Linked DNA regions of Homo sapiens: regions 1, 2, 3, 4, 5 and 7 are each linked to region 6. Evidence: promoter capture Hi-C in 16 types of primary human blood cells and fetal thymus (Javierre and others, 2016). All regions are on one chromosome and are shown on one strand. The core of a region is centred on a gene start or on the middle of the fragment in contact, and the rest is flanking DNA. Distances in the headings are between cores, read along the strand shown.

Region 1 (2,964 bases), core at 290-2,789, 770 kb before region 6:
CCAGGAAACGCTATTATAACAATGTCACCAAACTCGCTTCCATTGAGTAAATCAATAACACCATGAGCTAGCTGCTTACTCATTACTTGAAGATTTAAATGGGGACTTTCTAAAAATTGGTATTCCATTGAAAAGTTGTGGTTGCAGTGGTGCTAAGAGGAACTGGGTGATGGAAATAAATTTCTTCTGAGGATCTGTAAATATTAAATAATCCTCATGAAGTATTAATGGAAAGCATCTGATCTTCTAGAAACCGGGCAAGTATATAATTTTTTGTCTTTGCTCAAGATGATTTAACCTTTAATTCTGTCATGCCAAATGAGTATGACGGAATGGCGAAGGGGGTTGGCACAATAAATCTATTATACTATCTTACCAATACTTTATCTAATTATTATATTCACTTCTTGATAAGATAAATGAGGACTGGAGAGGATCACTAATTTGGCTCAGAGACAACAGCAGCAGAGCTGGAAGGGGCTAAGCTTATCTGATTCTGGAAGCAACACTGTTACACCATCTGTATTTTTCCCATATCTGTATGTTTTCCACAATACATCAAATAAGACAAGTCCCAAAGGTCTGAATGAATTAGAAACTATGAATAGAGACACTTAAAATGGGCACATGCCAAGCACAAGACAGGCAGAAGTCCTGTCTGGGTCTCACGTTCTATGACGCTATGAAAACAGTCATGCCACATTCTCCCTAATCTTTAAAGCCATCTCTCATGAAAGCACAATCCACATGCCTAAAGGGCTCCAAAATTCTTCATGAGCAATGCTACTGCAGATTTGCATGCAGAGACAACATATGCTGGACACCACAGAGTCCAAGGGAAACATGGTACTTTCCGTTAAATCTGTCCTTAGTAGCCAGTTTTTTAAAAAATAACTTACCACTGTCCCACCACTTCCAAGCCTTCCCTTTCTTCTAAGAATTTGAAAAACATCAGGGTTTTCTGCAGCTTTGTAGCTAATTCCCATGATGATGTTTGTGCCTTGCAAAATAAAGAAGGCCACAGGAGAGCAGACACTGCCAGCACAGCAGTCAGGTCGGGGGAGCGGGGGTTGTTTAGAACAAGGTCCTTCATGTACCATTCTGAACCACCATCTTGTGCAGCAGCTCTGGCCGCAAACTACTCCATGGGAACAACGTGAAGACAAGAAGTATAGGGTGCATAAGTAACTTCTGTGTGTAGGCAGATTATTCACTTCTTCGTTCTATCAGTGGAAAGCACTACTGATGATGCAGGGAAGAAACAGAAGTCCTGTCTGGCTCTCACATGCTATGACTCTATGAAAACAGTCATGCCACATCTCCCTCACCTTAAAACTAAATCAGAGTATCAAAACTACTAAGCCAGAAACTTGTTTTTTTCGAATAGGAAGATGTTTGAACTGGAGCTCCAAAACATTGAAGTATCTTTACTAAAAGGGATATACTATCTTCTATAAAGAATTTCCATACACTTTATTTTGTTCCTAGAAAAAAAAAAAAGAAAATGCTCACACAAGTCCACACTTACACAGACGTGCACAGAAGCATGCTTCTTACCAAAAGTTACTTCTCCTTTGCCAGCTTTGTCAAACAGCTGAAAGGCTACCATAAACAAAGCATCAGGGGCACACAGGACAGATTCAAAGGCAACAAATTCTTGAAAAGATATTAATCTGCAACATAAAACAAACATAAAGCAAAAGTCAGTAGCTTGTGGAAAACAGAAGCATATACAAACATACACTGAGGGAAAAAATAAGATATCACTGCCAAAACATAAAATTCAAACTGAAAACATTTATAAACATTTAGCATTTACTTTTACATATAGTGGACTGAAATAATAATGCACAGAATCTAAAAGACATGACAGCATTGACCATGAAGTTACACACTAAATACATTATAATTTCAAATATAACTGTTTTATCCAGCATCATATATGTTTCAGTCTTCCTTCAGGCATGTTTTTGGGTTCTATAATAAAAGTGCAGATACTTTAGACTAAGATGTGACTGCCTAACAGCAAAATAGAGCAACTTTGTTATGCATTAGTATCCTTATACACCATGCAAAAAACGGTTCACAGATATTGATTCACTACTGGTATTTACTGACCACCTGTGAATTGACCTAGGGCTAGTACAAGGGGAATACAGATAAATGATACATGAAACATGACCCCAAGGGACTTCTAGTCTAGTGAGGCAGACAGCACTGGTCTAGAAACAGACTAGTGTATAGAGGAAGGACAAATCATAACACAAGAACTAGTATGGTAATAAAAGTCTTTGTGGCAGAAATGGCATTTGAGCTAGGCCTTAAAAAATGAGTACAACTTGGATATGCGGTAATGGGTGTAGACTAGAGGGCACTTCAGGCAGAAGGCTAATGCAAGAAAGCTAAGGAGTGTACAGGGAAACTGATGAGTGACAGATTTTGTCTGGACAGTGGAGTGCATAAAAGAACAATGTAAAATAAGATTAGAAATATAGGACCAGAGGTGGCCTTGAAGAAAGAAAAGGGCCTGGTCATTCTTCTCTAGGAAAAAGGAGTGACTTTAACTTTCCGAAGGTCAAAATGTGGGTCAAATCTAAGCTTTAGGAAGAACATGAGAGGCCAAGGACGTTTTGACTTCCAAAGAGGAAATGGGTCCATAAAAGCTTTCCTAGATTTTATTTTTTAACAACTGCTATTTTAAGTATCCAAATACTTTAATGATACATTGAGATACTCCAAGTTTCCGGAGGATATGGAAGGAGGAAGAAAATAGGAATGGTTTTCATATATTTTACAGAAAACTTAGTTACTTCTAAACATCCTATAGAGAGAACACATTTTTATAAAAACTGTTACAAAGTGAACTTAGCTGTTTCCCAGAATGTCACCCAATTACAATAATGCTACAAAGAAAGGAAAAACGCAGTGTGTTCAATATAGCATCTCTGTATCATTAACCATCCA
Region 2 (2,700 bases), core at 114-2,613, 830 kb before region 6:
CCAAAATGTTGGGATTGCAGGTGTGAGCCATCTCACCTGTCCTGAGTTTGCAGCCCTTCACTAAGCAACTATAACATCTAAGCCTGCTTCATCCCCAGGGCCACAGCTGACTGGACAATGTAAAACACCTAAAAGACACGCAAATCAAGAGTTCAGCAACCTGAGCCTGCTACCAAAAATAGAGCTGGCCAATTAGGATGCCTTCTCCAGGAGGATGACTGACAGTCTTTAGAGAAGAGGGGACAAGTTAGCACAGAAGCAACAAGATGAAAAGATGTCATGGGTGGAGCAAGGAAAGCAGCCAATTGGAAGTCACGTGTGTGCTAATATCACAAGGAAGCAGAAACCATGAATAAGCAGAGGAAGTGCATTGGTGGACAGATGAGAATGTGGAGCAAAAGGAATAGAGATTAAAAAGAGAATGCACATAGCCCATGAAAGGCACACAGGTGGGAGCGCCTGTCCCCATCACCTTTGGGTCCCACTGAGGCCAGCCTCCAGTGCAGCTCCTGCTCTTGGATCTGAGATTTCTACCTTCTTTCTCTCTTGTGTGAATGTTTATCAAAAGCCCCCCTAAGCTCTTGCTAGCTTGAGTGGGGCTGTGCTCTTTAGAATTTAAATGAGCTGAGGCAGCATATGAGAAAAAACGGGAATATGCAACCATTTGGGCAAAGCAAGCATTCTTATCCAAAGCAAGCATTCTCTCCTAAACTATACTCATGACACTCACTCACTGATCTTTCAGTAAGATATCTATAATAGGAGAAGGCTTGGTTATTACCTAATAAAAGTACAACATTAATTTCTACTAGTAATATGTGGGCATACGCCTGTTTAAACTACCTCTTCACAATTGAAATTTTCATCTTTCTCCCTGTATTCACATCAAGTAACAAAATGCTTAGTTAAACATTTACTTGCTAGATGTATTTTTCTCATCATTAAATTGTAGACCAAAATTGTGGATGGGTTGAAAGCACTGTGATTTAAATGATGAACTCTTGTCTCCATAACTATCCTGTGACAGTCTTTTTAAATGACTAATAAAAAAACAGGCCACAGAGCCTAATGACTACTGTGTTAGATACAATCACTTCAGCCAGCCTTTCAAACTACTGAAATTTATCCTTCTCACCATAAATTTAGTAATGCATTGTGAACGGCAAAAAACAGAAGGGAAAACCCCGTATTTAAGACTACAAAGAAGGCAACAAGTAGCTATTTGTTCAGCAAACATTTACCAAATGCCTTCTCTGTCTGCCTGGTACTGAGAGGAACTGGGATGAACACAGTGAGACTGGTGCCTCCCCGCTAAGAAGCTCAGAGTTTAGAGGGAAAGGGAACGCTAGTTGTCTCCACCTGCCAGATGGGGGACAAACCACCTAACAACAGCAGGTGCTGCATACCAGACCCCAGGGGCATCACAGGACTATGAGAACCCAGTGGAGAGAACCAGTTCTTCTGCCTGCAGGAGGGGAAAAAACATCAAAGAAGAGGAGATATTTGCCCTGGGACTTCAAGGGTGAGCAGAGGTTCCCCGGAAAGATGAGACAATGAGCAGAATGGAGGGCAAGGTGACCCAGGCAGAGGAAACAGTTGGTGTGCAAAGGCACCAACATCTTAAGGCTATGGCATGGAGTCAGGGCACTGGAGGCTGTGCTTGGATCACAGAAGACCAGATAATAAATAACAATATTATTAATAGTAGTGATAATGACAACAGCCAATATTTGGGGAGCACTCGCTATATCCACATACTACAGTACTGTGTGTTTTATGTGAATGAACACATTTAATCCACACAATACCTTACTTAAACAGTGGCTTTTGTTTTATCCACAGCAACTGAAGAAGAAACTGAGGCCGACTTTAAGGGAGCTGCCCATGGTGGCTCAGCTGTTTGATGGGGGAACGGGGTTCCACCCAGGCTGTCCGACTCCAGCCTGTGCTCTTACCTGGTACGCTGCACAACTTCTCTCCCAGGCCCACTAAGGAGCATGCACCAAATTCTGTAGATGCATGGGGTGGCTTTTAGGGTAAAAAGTAAAGTTCAAAAAGTAAAAAGTTCTAGAGGCAGGTGAAGGATAGTTTGCAAGAGCAGAGACCTGAGGAAGCTAGAGAAACTAGGAGTTTAAGGTAATATATTAGAGGCCCCGAGCTTCCTTATATTAAATGATTAACTTCAACTTAGAATAAAACCAAAGCACAAATCCATTCCTAAGACCTAGGCCAGATGCTGCCACTCACGGAAGTTGTTGATAAGAACCATTCTTGTAGTGACTACCTTGTCTGGTTAAACAGGAAAATGAAGGTGACTGGATTATAATCTGAGGCCCACTACAGATGTGGGCCTTGAAAACATGAGTCTTGGGTAAATGGTCTTTGTAAGAAGGTCATGATCTGTGAAACAATGAAAAGTCAAAGAGGTGGGAATTCCAAACTCCCTCCTTGTACCTTGACCTCAGAGGGAGGAGAGGTAGCACAGCCCAGTAATGCCTAAAGCAGAGAGTCTAGGTGAGGCACTTCATCACAACCACAATTAAGTCTAAAGTGCATATATATCTGACATCTGGGTAATTCAGCAGAAAAATCAGGTTTCTAATATAAGATGTTTCTGTTGGGTCCTGGAAATTCACTTTAACCATTTGAAACAGAGAATGGATGTGTGTGTTGTTTCTAACTTGTCAAAACAGCAGTCCA
Region 3 (2,921 bases), core at 130-2,629, 590 kb before region 6:
CAAAAATCAGCAGGGCATGGTAGTGCACGCCTGTAATCCTAGCTACTAGAGAGGCTGAGGCAGGAGAATTGCTTGAACCCAGGGGACAGAGGTTGCAATGAGTCGAGATCATGCCACTGTACTCCAGCCTGGGTGACAGAGCGAGACTCTGTCTGAAAAAAACAAAACAAAACAAAACAAAATTAAAAAAAAAAACACACAACATATAAAGTAGAAGGATAAATTCACCTGTAGTCCTAGCCACAAATAACTGCTGTTAACATTTTGACATATTTCTTTGAAGCTTTCTCTATGCATATACTCTCTTTACCGTAATAGAAAACCATTTTTGAGCTGCTTTGCCTATTGAGTAGCCATTCATTTATTCCTTTACCTCCTTAATAAACTTGCTTTCACTTTACTAAAAAAAAAACCGTTAAAAAATGGCTCATACATTTGAAAAAATGGCTTCATAGCTTGTGTAACTATATAGATAGTGAAAATACACACATTATTATTATTCATAGAGAAAAATAGATTTTATAATTTTTTTTTTGAGACGGAGTCTCACTCTGTCACTAGGCTGGAGTGCAGTGGCGCAATCTCAGCTCACTGCAACCTCTGCCTCCCAGGTTCAAGCGATTCTCCTGCCTCAGTCTCCAGAGTAGCTGGGACTACAGGTGTGTACCACTACACCCAGCTAATTTTTTTTTTTTTTTGTATTGTTAGTAGAGACAGGATTTCACAATGTTGGCTAGGATGGTCTCAATCTCTTGACCTTGTGATCTGCCCGCCTTGGGCTCCCAGAGTGCTGGGGTTACAGGCGTGAGCCACAGCACCCAGCCAAGATTCACTTTTATAAACAACAATGTGATGAACATCTATGTGCAAATATTTTAGTGTATGCATCCAATAATTTCTATTGATGATATTCCTTAAAGTGAACACCTTAGTCAAATTATACACACATTTTAATTTTTAATATTGGCCATCAGAAAGGTTGGTACAATCTATATTAGTAAAATGTGTTATCTGGCATGGAAATACAGAGAGGGTTTTGGGTTCTACTAGAAATCAGAATGGCACTGCCTATTATAAATCCTTGTTTATTGACTTTAAAATGCTTGGTCTTTGTTGGTAAAGGCCCAAACTGAATGCTCTGAAAGAATAGTTATTGACTAGAAAGACTCCTTGAAGAAAAATGTTTAGACAGCCACGTAATTGGATTCCCAGCTGGAATAGTGGGTTTCTAAGATTCACGACTATTTTAAAATTCAAGGAATACAGATCCCTTATCCTTGTTCATTGGGAATAATTTCCTCTGTCCCATTTTTAGGGGGCTTTAAATATTCACATGACTTATATTTGAAAATATGATTGGATACAGACAAAAGTAGAGTAAAATTGATGTATAGCAGTAAAATGGTTAAGCAGGAAACAATTACACCACAACCTATCCCTCTTCAGTTACAGTAGGCTCAAGAATGACTTGCCCCTGAAGGATGAAATTAAGTTGTTTAAGACCCTCACTTTGATTTTACTCAAGCAGCTAAGGAAGAAGTACTATTATTTTTGTACTGAAAATTGATGTACAGCACTGCACAAGGCTGGTCTGTCACTTGTGGTGACAGCACAGACAACGGGCCAGTTTGATCTCTAAAAAGTTAAGGTTGCAGGCAGGAGTCAGCATGGATGATACAGTTGCTATTCCAGATTCTGGGACACAGACACTCCAGGCAAGGAGGAAAACGAATTCTATGAAATATGGTAGGGGTAGTTTCAGCAGAAACTGTTCTATGTAATAAACACTGTTTGAGATACGTGGGTGACTGTTTCTTATTTCTAGAAACACTGCTGTCATTACCTCAAAATTTTATATGCTTTGCAGAAATTGGAAATATAAACCAAGGACTTCCAGTTTAACTTGAAACTTGTGACTCTTTTAATGATGGAAGTCAGTAAACATATTCACGAATAGCTACCCACAAATATTCAAACCACCCATCATTCTCTACTGAATACATGTAAAAGACAACAGATAAAGCCCAAGAAGTTGCTTTGTGACTGTAGATACATGCACTGTGAGTTATTAACACATTTAATGAAAAACTGAAGAGACTATGGCTCACTTGAAACAACCTATCAATCTGGAATTGCTTATAATGGGAAAGAAATATTTATAAATAGAATTAGACTTGGGCTTCAAGAAAACACATGCTATTATAAGGAAGAAATTGATTAATTATTGCTCTCTCTCCTTACTCCACCTCCTCTCCCCTTCTCCACCTCCTGGGATACAGGTTTAAGTTTAATCTGGGGCTTTAAATTAGCATTAGAAAAAACTTTTTGATGATGTGTACATTTTAACTACTAGGATGGGACTACAACAAAATATATAAACTCATTTCCCTAGACAATTTTAAACGATGAGATTGGTATAATTGGTGTGGGTTGGTTTGGCTTTGCTTAAAAAAGAGAGATGAATGAGGGGATTCCAAAAGCTTTTTCAGTCCCTTGAGTTTGTGACTGTACTTTGGGCTTTGCCTCATTGGACTGTTAGAAAGCCCTGGGCCACTAGTGATCACCTGTCATCCTGACGATAATCTCCACTGAGGAGAATGTTTGTTCTAATAATGAATACATAGGGCTCAGTTTCTACTTTCCTTAATTTTCCCAACAGCTACAGAGAGGTCTCTTGGTTCCTTAATAATATTATTTATTTTCTCTTCCTGGTGATATTACTGTGGCCTACTTGATTTTAAAGGCTTGGCTATACATTTTAAAAATTCATTAATGATGGAAAATAAAAAAGATACATTCATACCAAATAATTATGCCTAAGAAAATTCAAGCTTTCATTGTGTTTTAACCTGTTGGCCAGAGCTGGCCATTTGTATGTATTAAAAAGGCAGCTACCAACTATAATGACTGATTAAGGGACA
Region 4 (2,700 bases), core at 44-2,543, 680 kb before region 6:
ACAGCATTTAAATATATTTGTCTGCTTACAATTTCCATTGCAAATGTGATTAGTTTGCTTGAATAAATAGGAATATGATGTGTTGGCCATGTTTTCCTCTTGAGGGTTATCACAGAGTTTTGATTAAGGACAAATGTTTGAAATGTTAGGTATATTTAAGTTCACTGCACTTAAAATGAGCTAAGAAGTTGTATAGGCTTGATTAGAGGGCTGCCTTCGTGAACTTAAATTAAAAGCAATAAATTCCAAATGATTCAAGTGATTGGGACTAAATATGGTATTCTGCCAGAGAAGTTGAAATGCAGTCCAAAGAGACTGAAATGGTGTCCAGGTTTCAAGAAATGGTGAAAGAGGAAAGGTCAAGTGTTGGAGTTGCCTTTCCTCTGGGTTAGTGAATGATTCACATTACACAGAACCCCTTTCAAGTACAACTTCACAGGAGTGACAGGCTCCCAGGACAATCTGTTTCATCGTTCCCAAAAAGAAGCCTCTCAAATGCTCCGAGGCGGGTATCTAAGTGTTGTCAGATGGAGAGAGGGAGGGGGAAGATGGGAATGATGGGAAAGCGGGGAGGGGGAGAGTCCCTGGACTTTTTATTCACAAAGGCGCAGACCAAGTCTCCTAGGCAGTTTCCAAAACGGAAGTCAAAGTAACTTCCCCACCCGCGGGAGGGCGGAGCCCTTGAAACGTAATAGGATCAGGCTTCAGCCCGGGCTCTGGCCCCTGGAAGAAGCCGGAGTCAACAACCAGCGGGGTCAGGAGCAGGAGCGCGCTGGGAAGGTAGAGAGGACCCCCAGCGCTTGCCGGCCCAGGGTGCACCAGGCCCCAGTCGCGCCCGCTCCTCCTCGTCGGCCCTGGCTCAGCCCCGTCAGGCACCAACTTCCCTCCCCGGCCAAGTGGGAGTGTCCGGCCCACAAAGTTTCCGCTGCGAGGTCGGGCCTCGGTCTCTGCACCGACCGCCTGTGCTGCCCGGGAGGAGTGGCCCCCTCCCTCCAGCAGCCGCAAGGTGGAACGGCTGCCCGGCACCCCATTTTGCTCCGCCTGTGGCACCAACCCAGACACGTGAGCGCCCGAGCCTCTCGCACCCCCAGGCTGATCCGGCAGGCGCGCTCCCCCCGGCCTCGGGCCCGCGGTTACCTTGGCGGCCGCCATGATTCGCCCCGGTTGCGGGCGACTGCGGGACCCACTGACTGGCTGGCTGGCGTTTGGGACCCGGGCGGCTCACTTCTAGTCCCGGCGGCGGCGGCGGTGGGGGCGGCGATACGGCCAGGCAGCGTGCGTTCCTGGCCTGCCTCCCCACGCCCTCCCGCCGGCGCGGGTCATGTGGATGCTGCCCGCCCATTGGCTGGGCCCAGCCTTGGCCGCCGGGGTGCGCGTGATCCAGCGGCCTCTGCCCTGCAGCCGGGGAGGGCTCAGATCCTGGGGCAGTGGCTGGACAGGGACACGTGACCCCGCTGCGCTGTCCAGCAGCGGCGGCCTCTGCGGCGTGGGCAGAGGTAACTTGGCCGTGTGCAAGCCCGTCACCTGAGGGCAGGTGGCCCCACCAGGGAAGCTGCTGGCTTCTGCTGATACCAGGGGCTACTGGGCCCTCGGACCGATGGGAGGGGCAAGTAACGACAGATGGTGCACGGCCTGGGGAAGTTGAGAACTCCACTAGGACACATACTTTGCTGGATATTTTTTCCCCTGTGCGTTCCCTTTGAAGGAGCTCCACTTTACACTGGATCCAAAAAGACTTTGATCCAAAAGCATTGACTTAGAAGGCGAGATTGCAAATATTGCTGGCACGCCTACTTTTAGATCAAAATCGGTGAACTCTTAAGAACCCAACAAGTGAATGTAGTGCAGAACGTATATTCATGAAACTACTCCATTTCAGCCCTACCTGTTAAAACGGTAGAAGTCAAAAGGCCCGGGTCAAAAGACTTCCCCCAAATAGGCCCTACTAAAATAAATAAACAAGCATTTTAATGAAAATTTGCTTATATGACCTCCAGGCCTTACTCCTCTTCATCAGGATTTCATTCTTCTGTCCTTGTAATCAAAATTTATAAGACAGTGGTGATCAGGGAAAAGGACTTTTAATGTATTGTAGGTTGTGGATGTAATATGGCAGCAAAAAGCACTTATTACTAATCAGTTTAATTCATTAACGTTGATTGAGTGCCTTCCTACTATGTGCTAGGCACTGTGCTTGGTGCTGGAAACCCCGAAATGACTTAAGAACTGGTTCCAACCGTTAAACAGCTTCAGGGCTATTGGGAAAGAGACACATAAATGTTTACTTCAGTATAACCTGTTAAGGCAGCAGACTGTTCCCAGGGCTCAATAAGAATACTGAGAATTCTCATGCCACTATGAAGAAATACCTGAGACTGGGTAATTTATAAACCAAAAGATTTAATTGACTCAGTTTCGCATGGTTTGGGAGACCTCAGGAAACTTACAGTTGTGGTGGAAGGCACCTCTTTACAGGGTTGCAGGAGAGAGAATGAGTGCCAAGCAAAGGGGGGAAAGCCCCTTGTAAAACCATCAGATCTCATAAGAACTCACTATCACAAGAACAGCATGGGAGTAACCGCCCCCATGATTCCGTTGTCTCTCACCGGGTCCTTCCCATGACATGTGGGGATTATGGGAACTACAATTTAAGATGAGATTTGGGTAGTGACACGGTCAAACCATATCAAAAGGTAACTT
Region 5 (3,000 bases), core at 484-2,983, 570 kb before region 6:
CTTCATCATGGATGATGAAAGGTTTAAGAATAGGGCCATGGTGGCTTGGCTCCATGCTGAGATCTTCAGACCTCCAAATGGGTGCTCATCACATGACATCAATTTCACTGTATTGCTTGCTTGCTTGATTATACCGACAGTCCCATGCAACCCAGGCAATCTCCTTTGCAAAACAGAGAAATAAAAGTAATGATGAAAATATTAAGAGTCAAAGAATAATTTTGCTAAAAAAATGTTTAAGAAACATAAGTGATTGCTGCTTAGTATCATTTTTGTCTTACCAAGATTCTGGATAATTTATCATTTACAATCAAGATAAAAACCTAATCTTTATGTTTCTTTTTTTTTTTGCCTCTTTTCTCCCCACAATCTACTCCAATAATGTTTAGTATTTACATCTTTACCTACATTTTCTTGAACATACGTGGTAACTCACTTTGTAAAATGGATTATAGAATTCTGTTTGTTCTAATAAATTAAATATTAATTTTAGAAATTTTTAAAGACTATTGTCACACTAGTTCTGAATCTATCCTCCAGAAAGGCAATGCTAGGGATCAGAACTTTTTAATCCTTCATTTATTTTTGTGCTAGAAAACTAACATAGTTTTATGTACTGACGTTTAAAGTTTGAATGGCACATTAGTGTGATTTTCAAGATTTCAACATAAGCATCTATTTCATATTTTTAAAAAGACTGTAAAATTACTTCTCCTTTTGGGTATGATGTATTCTCATTGCAGCTTGGAGTTTCTGTTTAAAAAAGTCTTTTGTAGAATTCATGTGCCAAATATCAAACGAGGTGTCAAACTTTGTAAAAATACAAAGAAATTAGTGCTTTCAATTTTATTAGCATATAGAAGCAGAAATCCTGTGGCATGCATTTGAATAGTAAAAACTTTACAGAGGTATTTATGCAAGAGACATTTATCAACTCTCTAGAATGTACAAATCATCAGGCTGGGTGCTGTGAGAGATTACTTCTACTTAAAGCTTATTATGATCGAGTACATCAGGGGTCAACAACATTTTTTGTAAAGGGGCAGATGGTGAATATTTTTTGCTTTGCAGGCCATGTAATCTCTGTACTCAGAGCTGGTACTGTAGAATGAAAGCAAGCGTAGACAGTATGTTGTAAGAGAATGACAGTAACCATAAACTAATACAGCTTTCTGAGTGGACACTGAAACTTAAGTGTCAAACTATTTTCATGTCTCACAAACTATTATTCTTGTTTTAACTTTTTTCAACCATTTAAAATGTAAAAAACAATTCTTAGTTTGTGGGCCACACAAAAACAAGCAGTGGGCCAAATTTGGCCTGCAGGACATAGTTTACTGACCTCTGTAGTAGATGTGTATTGAAACAAAGTAGAACACATGGGATAACATGGCATGATGGCGGGAACATACACTGTGAGAGTATAAAATAGGACAAATTAATTAGGAAAGGCTGTAATGCTAATATCTTATGGAGATGATAATTTTGTTTCCATTTTTTCTGAAATGAGATTCATATAACATAAAATTTACCATTTAAAAATGAACAGTGGCACTTAGTATTTTCACAGTGTTGTGCAACTGCCACATTTACCTAGTTCTAAAACATTTCCATCAGACGGAATTATCCCAAAGGAAAACCCTGTACCCATTTGGCAGTTGCTCCCCATTCCTGTCCCCCCACCAGTTGCTGGCAACTACCAATCTGCTTTCTGTTGCTACGAATTTACCTATTCTGAATATATAATATTTCATATAAATGGAATCATACAATATGTGATCTTTTGTGTCTGGCTTCTTTCATTTAACATAATGCTTTATAGATTCATTGATGTAGCATCTATCAGCACTTCATTTTTTCTGGCTGAGTCATATTCCCCTGTATGCGTATACCACATTTTGTCTGCCCATTCATGAGTTGATGGAAATTTGGCTTTTTTCAAAAGTTCCCCTATGAACATGCATGTACATTTATGCAGTTTTCAATTCTTTTTGATATATACCCAGAAGTGAAAATGCTGGGTCAAATGGTAATTCTATGTTTCATGTTTTGAGGAATCACAAAAGTGTTTTCTGCAATAGCTGAACCATGTTGCATTCCCTCGCAACATATAAAAGTTTCAATTTCTCCACCTCCACAAGAGGAATTGTTATTTTTATTTTTTGAAATTATAGCTATCCTAGTGGGTGCAAAGTGGTATTTCACCGTGGTTTTGATTTGCATTTTCCTGATGGTTAGTGATGTTGGGCATTTTGTATATGTTTGTTGGTCATTCTATATCTTCTTTTGAGAAATGTCTATTCAAATCTTTTGCCCATTTTAAAATTGGATTATTTGGTTTCTTTGCTATTAAGTTGTTTGAATTCCTTATGTATTATGGATATTAACCCCTTGCCAGGTGCATAGTTCGCAAATATTTTCTCCCATTCTGTACATTGTCTCTTCACTCTGTTAATTGTTTCATTTGCTGTACAGAAGCTTTTTAGTTTGATGCAATCCCATTTGTCTATTTTTGCTTTTGTTGTCTGTGCTTTTGAAGTTCTATCCAAAAAGTCCTTGCCCAGACTAATGTCATGAAATAGTTCCCTTACATTTTCATATAGTAGTTTCATAATTTCAGGTATTGTATTTAAGCCTTAATCCATTTTGAGTTGATTTTTTGTACATGGTGAGAGATGGGGGTCTATTTTCTTTTTCTTTTTTCTTTTTTTTTTTGCATTTGTATATTCTGTTTCCCTAGCACCATTTATTGAAGACGCTGTCTTTTCCTCAATGTGTGTTCTTGGAACCTTTGTTGAAAATCAGTTGGCTGTAAATGGATGGATTTATTTTTGGGTTTCTATTCTGTTCTGTTGGTCTATGTGTTATGTGTTTGTTTTTATGCCAGAACCATGCTGTTTTGGTTACTATAGTTTTGTAGTGTATCTTGAAGTCACATAGTGTGATGCCTCCAGCTTTGTTCCTTTTGCTCAAGATTGTTTTGGCTACTCAGGGTTTTTT
Region 6 (2,810 bases), core at 151-2,650:
CTGAACCACGCACCGGGGCTCCGCTGTCTCTGCTTGGCTGCCTTAACCTGCGTGGGTCTGGAGACCGGAGGGAGAAAGGCTAGATCCGCAGCCTTGGGCTGCTCCGAACTTAATGTCTTTCCCCAGTCCATCTTTGAAAGAGAAGTGGTTCTACCACCTGGATGTGCGGATATAAATCCCCTTGCAAATAATAAATGGATTAATAATAACAAGGTATGAAGTTCTTTTTATAGAAAAAAAGGAGAGAATTGAAACTAAATGCGGCAGTTAGACAACCATTTTGATAAGAGGATAATTGAGGCGACACTGGTGTATAATTAGAGGATAATTTATGCTATATCCACTTTTATTCCACCTCCCAAAATAAACCCAGTCCATAATCATTACAGGCAAATTGTTCTGAATTTTATAGCAGCAATTTGAACAAAGTACTGCAGTTAATCATGGGAGATTTTTGTGTATTCCTGATTAGAACTCTAATTGCCTCCTTCCAGAAAGTAAAAATAACTGTAAAACGACTCTATTTTTATCATTAACAATGTTGACAATAAAATAAAATCAATTGGAATTGTAATCGAGAGACAAATTTAGGACGAAGGCACTTTTACTTGGGTAGTTTATATTGTAATCAAGATTTGCCAAACCACTAACCGCATGTATCATTTGCATATATTTGAAAGCATTACAGTAGCTTCTGTTTTCAATAGGAAAAAATGCATTACTGTCAGTCCTCCAACGATTCGTTTTCAGAACACGCTGCTGCGTTCTGAAAAGAAAAAAAAGACGCCCCCCCCCCCCACAACCTTTTGTACAATATATAAGAAATACGGCCTGAAACGGCAGGGACCGAGCCAGAACAGGGTCTGATTTTTCTTTTTCTGTACCACCCCCCAGTGGGGTGGAGCCCAGGTGTGAGGGTTCGTCTTCCTTCTGTGGTTTCAATAAAATACGTCTAGAAAAATCCACGGTGACAAGGAGCTCCCACAAGAGTGTAGTAGGACCAGAGTGGCAGGGACGTCAAGAAAGGGGGGCCTGGATTTAATGCGGGGGTGGGGTCACTGCTTCTAAGCACAGGCAACCTACAAGGGTGCAAAGGGATTGAAAGAGAGCAGCCCCCAGTTGGCTGTTTCAAGGCTGAGATATTGGCAACTGGGGCTCCGGGATTTGGGGCACGAGCTGCGGCGGGAAGCATCGGCGGCCGGCCGGGCAGAGGCGCCTCCCTCCCCAACGGCCCCGGGCGCCACACAGCGCGGCCCCCGGCTGCAGCTCCGGCTGGGATTGGAACTGCGGAAGGTAGGCGAAGAACTCTGCAAGTCGCGCACACGCCAGTAGAAGCCGTGCGCCTGTGACGTCAGGGGGCGACTGACCAATGGGGAGGCACTGCCCTTTGGAGACAAACCATTCGACTCGTGGCGTCTGCATCAAGTCTGAAAGCAGACGCGCAACTTTCGCAGAATCCACCTTAAAATCTCTGCCTTAAACTGCACCAGCCCCCAAAAAATCCAAGGGGGGAAAGCAGGCGGGGGGAGAGCAGATTCCCCCCTCCCCCTCTCCTCTCCCATCCCTCCTCCTTCCTCCTCCCTTTGAGTTAACAAGGCCCCGCTCACTATATCTCTTTATATTAAATATATATATATATTAGAGAAGAGCGAGGGAGAGGGAGAACCACCTCCACCCCCCTCTTTAAATTCTTTTTTTTTTTTTTTTTTTTTTTTGCAAGGATCCAAAGAGCTAAGGTGGCTGCAGAGGGGAGAGCGGCGCGAGCCAAGTGGGGGAGGGTGGAGGAAACCCGGGAGAAGGCTTTCTCCAGCCCCCAAAGTTTTTGATGATGACCATGACTACGATGGCTGACGGCTTGGAAGGCCAGGACTCGTCCAAATCCGCCTTCATGGAGTTCGGGCAGCAGCAGCAGCAGCAGCAGCAACAGCAGCAGCAGCAGCAGCAGCAACAGCAACAGCCGCCGCCGCCGCCGCCGCCGCCGCCGCAGCCGCACTCGCAGCAGAGCTCCCCGGCCATGGCAGGCGCGCACTACCCTCTGCACTGCCTGCACTCGGCGGCGGCGGCGGCAGCGGCCGGCTCGCACCACCACCACCACCACCAGCACCACCACCACGGCTCGCCCTACGCGTCGGGCGGAGGGAACTCCTACAACCACCGCTCGCTCGCCGCCTACCCCTACATGAGCCACTCGCAGCACAGCCCTTACCTCCAGTCCTACCACAACAGCAGCGCAGCCGCCCAGACGCGAGGGGACGACACAGGTGAGAGGCCGCTGGGGCAGCTCGCTTCTCCCGCCTCCCGACTGCCCCCTACCCCGCCCGCCCGCTCACTTCCTCGACGCCCGGGCCTCCGCCGGCCCCCTCCCCCAGGCGGCCCCGCGCGCCCTTGGCCGGGCCCCGTGCGCGCCCGCTCGCCTGGCGCCTGCCTGCCGGCCTCTCCCAGCCGGGCCCCTTCCCGCCGCCGCGGACCCTCAGCTTCCGACGCGCAGTTCGGGCTGAGTCCCGGGCCCGGCGCAGGCTTCGTTCGACGAGTTAGTCCACACTGCGCTCTCCAGCCTCCTGGGTCTGTGCGCCCTTTTCCTTGCTCCTTCCCTCCAGGCTGTAACCCACGTTTGACCCGGCTGGGGACATTTCTGGGCCGGAACTGGGGAGCGTGTTTTGCTTCCCAGCCCACGCTGGGCAGGCAGTGGCCTACTTTGCGTGGGGCGCCCCGTGCTCCTCAGTGACTCGGAGGGAAGCTGGCCTGGCTTTCGCTCTGGTTAAACTAGTAACAGTCAGGCTCTTTCCAGTGGGCTTTAAAGTGTCCCTCAC
Region 7 (2,805 bases), core at 306-2,805, 790 kb before region 6:
TTTTCTACTGCACTCTTTTGGCTTGACCCAAGAGTTCTCAAATTGTTCAAATAATCCCATTTAAGATGGGCCACTGAATGTGCTGGTCCTGGCTTAGGATCTCTTTTTAGCCTCTACAGAAAAACTGTAAGAGGACTGACAGAGAAAAAACAAACAAACAAGAAAAAAACATGAAAAACCTTACTTTTCTAAAGCTTCTATTTTTATTTTTAGCCTCCTCCTCTTGATAAAAGTATGTGTTTGGAGAATGGAGGAAATACAAATTATTAGCATATTAATAATTTTTCCTGGCTTTCACATCTTTAAATATATCTACCAAACCTGCTCATTTCTATGAGCAAACTGTGCTTGATACCTTTTTTTCTCTTTTGCTTCTATTTAAAACAAAAAAAGAAGAAGAAAGTTATTTAGTCCTCTGAAAAGTGCCAAAACCTTTGGCATAATGTGTCTATGGTTTCCCCTCAAATTTCCTGCTCCCACCCCCATTATACCCACAGTTTTTATTCCACGTTTTTAAAGTTTCCAGAAATTTTTAAAGCCTTGTCATGAAGAAACAGTAGTGCCACCATTAGCATAAGGTTAGGTGTGTATTTGCACAGAGAAGGCAGTAAAAAATCAGGATTATGCTGGGCATAAATTTTATAAAACATGGCAGAAATCCTCAGACTGGCCCTGATGAGGACAATAAAAGTTTTAAAGTACAAGTACTGAATTTATTCTGTCTTCTTTACTTTTAGGGAAAAAAGAGATAAGATATAAGGAAAATGAAGTGAATCCAGAATTAGGATTTAAAGGAAAAACAAACAAACAAAAAAGATTCTCAGTGAGTCTGACCAGGGGTCAATAAAAGGAATTAAGTAGAAGATTTCTGAGAAGAAATCACCAAACTGAAATTCAAATGACTTGGATTCAAATTCTACTAACAGCAGCTAAAATTTCTTGGGCACTCACCATGTGCCAAGTATTGTTCTAATGGCTGTAAGTCCCTTAATATCTTAAAACATGACTTTCTTCAGTGCAAAACATATTAACCGAGATAATCTGTGACTCCTTTCCAGGTGTAAGTGTCTGTATCTCTGTAGGAAGCAGGCCCAATAAAGTTTTAATAAAGGCTCCCATAACCTTCTAATCTAGATGAATAAATTATCTAATGAAAATAATGCTCAAATGATAAAGATGTGACCAAAAGAAAAAAAATTCACACTGTAAATAAAATTTTATACTAGAATAAAATTTTAGAGAAATAATATGCAAGAAAAAATGGTTTTCTGGTTTATCCTCAGTTAACTTAAAAATTCCTTTCTGCCAAGCATTCCAGTGAAATAAAGTTTTAACGTAATAATCATAGGATAATTGTCAAAAATAAGATTTTTCCCCTTCTTGATCTCTCCTTCAATCTCTGTTTCCCATAGAAAGTAACAGAAGGTTTTTACTAAATAGCTGGTATGTAAAGCTAAGGCACTTATTATCCATTTTTATATTTATATGGTCTAAAATTATAAATATACATGAAAGTAGGTTTAAGTTTTTCTAAAATTAGTGAATGCATGTAAAATGTGTCTCACCATAAACAACAATCTTATTTATCTATAATTAAAGTAACTACCATTTACTTCTTACTAGAGCTCACATTTGAATCCGAAACTCTAAACGCTATAGTTTTTTGGACTACACCATAGACTGTGTGTGTGCCTCTATGAAATGCCTGGCTGATGTACTGAAATCTCCTCTGCAGGATAGAGCTATACATTATCCCTAAGATATCTCTCAGATCTAAAATCTGACAATCCTATAGGCCTGTACTACCAATAATGATTTGTTTGAAAAAAGATCTCTCTATAAATCTTCTAGAGTATACTATACTAGATGTATATAAAAGATCTCTATATGATGTAATATAAATCATTACATAGTATGCATATGTATGCACATATTAATGTGTTTGTGCATATTTATTGCACGTCTTTTATTTCCTAATTGATTATTAGCCCCTTCACAGCAAAGACCCCATTCTTCGCATCTGATTCTACCACTATGGCTGGCACAGTGGTAGGCAGAGAGCAACTGCTCACTAAGTAGTTGCTGAATTTAAATGAGCCAGAAAAGGTTTACAACAGATAATGCAACAGGTTAAGGACAGCGGTATTAACCCTTTGGGGCACTACAGTTTCCCTTGCTGAGAAACTATTCAACAGTCATTTCTCACCACTTCAGTGCACTGCATACAAATCATCAGTCAACATCGTTTATCAAAATCCCCAGGCCCGGTCCTAAACTGATTTAAACATGTTGAGGGGCTGAAAAAACTGCATTTTAGCCAGCACTCCAGGTTTTCCTGATGCAAGGGTCCAGGACCTCATTCTGAAAGCATTATCAGGGAGTATGGAAGGGTTAGATTCACTCCTAATTTTTAACTTCTCATTGAAATGGATAAAAATTTAAAAGGAAGGAGGTAGAGAAGACTCTCCAGACCAAGCAGTGTAATGCAGGAATGTGTAAACACAGATCATGTGTGACCTAGGTCATTCAGGGCTCCCATGCTGCACAACTCTAGTGGATGGCATTCACTTCATGGTCCATGTGACTGGTGCCTCCTGGAGTTGGGGAGTGTATCAAACACATGACCCTGAGGATGTAGGCCCATTATTAGCTTTGTGGCTGTTCCAATATACTGGCTATTGTAGGAATGTCAGGGCTTAGCTAGCTAGCTAGCAACCTTCTAAGTAGCACAGCTTGGGAGCACTGTACTAGGTCCTGTGGGAAGAGGAAGGGTAGTAAAAGGTATGAGGCTACATCCAAGTCTAA

What was found. Contacts are between HindIII fragments. The CHiCAGO score rates a contact against its expected background, and 5 or more counts as called.
Region 1: a fragment that was not itself captured here is called in contact with the fragment with the promoter of DLX6 in region 6 in 1 of 17 cell types (naive CD4 T cells); the score reaches 5.1 in naive CD4 T cells.
Region 2: a fragment that was not itself captured here is called in contact with the fragment with the promoter of DLX6 in region 6 in 1 of 17 cell types (total CD8 T cells); the score reaches 5.7 in total CD8 T cells.
Region 3: a fragment that was not itself captured here is called in contact with the fragment with the promoter of DLX6 in region 6 in 3 of 17 cell types (M0 macrophages, M2 macrophages and M1 macrophages); the score reaches 8.4 in M0 macrophages.
Region 4: a contact is called between the fragment with the promoter of SLC25A13 here and the fragment with the promoter of DLX6 in region 6, in 1 of 17 cell types (endothelial precursors). The highest score is 5.4, in endothelial precursors.
Region 5: a contact is called between a fragment that was not itself captured here and the fragment with the promoter of DLX6 in region 6, in 2 of 17 cell types (M2 macrophages and M1 macrophages). The highest score is 5.4, in M2 macrophages.
Region 7: a fragment that was not itself captured here is called in contact with the fragment with the promoter of DLX6 in region 6 in 1 of 17 cell types (naive CD4 T cells); the score reaches 5.2 in naive CD4 T cells.

What each region holds. Positions count from the first base shown.
Region 1 is chr7:96,233,245-96,236,208 of GRCh38, forward strand. SLC25A13 (solute carrier family 25 member 13) reads right to left here. Exons shown (of 18, transcript NM_014251.3): 4 at 1,558-1,673. Among named protein-coding and RNA genes, the nearest start is that of MIR591, 15 kb to the left of the region's middle. The HindIII fragment of the contact is 2,113 bases long and covers 484-2,596 here.
Region 2 is chr7:96,173,673-96,176,372 of GRCh38, forward strand. The region is part of intron 11 of SLC25A13 (solute carrier family 25 member 13); the gene reads right to left. Among named protein-coding and RNA genes, the nearest start is that of MIR591, 45 kb to the right of the region's middle. The HindIII fragment of the contact is 3,254 bases long and covers 1-2,700 here.
Region 3 is chr7:96,411,468-96,414,388 of GRCh38, forward strand. The region is part of intron 3 of LOC105375410 (a long non-coding RNA gene); the gene reads left to right. Among named protein-coding and RNA genes, the nearest start is that of SLC25A13, 91 kb to the left of the region's middle. The HindIII fragment of the contact is 2,197 bases long and covers 282-2,478 here.
Region 4 is chr7:96,320,805-96,323,504 of GRCh38, forward strand. It overlaps SLC25A13 (solute carrier family 25 member 13), which reads right to left and starts at 1,294. Exons shown (of 18, transcript NM_014251.3): 1 at 1,138-1,294. The coding sequence starts at 1,152. RefSeq lists a silencer at 1,090-1,429. The HindIII fragment of the contact is 9,010 bases long and covers 1-2,700 here.
Region 5 is chr7:96,432,451-96,435,450 of GRCh38, forward strand. It overlaps a transcript of LOC105375410 not described here. Among named protein-coding and RNA genes, the nearest start is that of SLC25A13, 110 kb to the left of the region's middle. The HindIII fragment of the contact is 1,485 bases long and covers 992-2,476 here.
Region 6 is chr7:97,004,153-97,006,962 of GRCh38, forward strand. It overlaps DLX6 (distal-less homeobox 6), which reads left to right and starts at 1,401. Exons shown (of 3, transcript NM_005222.4): 1 at 1,401-2,261. The coding sequence starts at 1,826. All of the region lies in intron 1 of DLX6-AS1 (DLX6 antisense RNA 1), which reads right to left. RefSeq lists an enhancer at 118-839 and a silencer at 2,152-2,251. The HindIII fragment of the contact is 12,379 bases long and covers 1-2,810 here.
Region 7 is chr7:96,209,586-96,212,390 of GRCh38, forward strand. All of the region lies in intron 4 of SLC25A13 (solute carrier family 25 member 13), which reads right to left. Among named protein-coding and RNA genes, the nearest start is that of MIR591, 8.8 kb to the right of the region's middle. The HindIII fragment of the contact is 2,726 bases long and covers 193-2,805 here.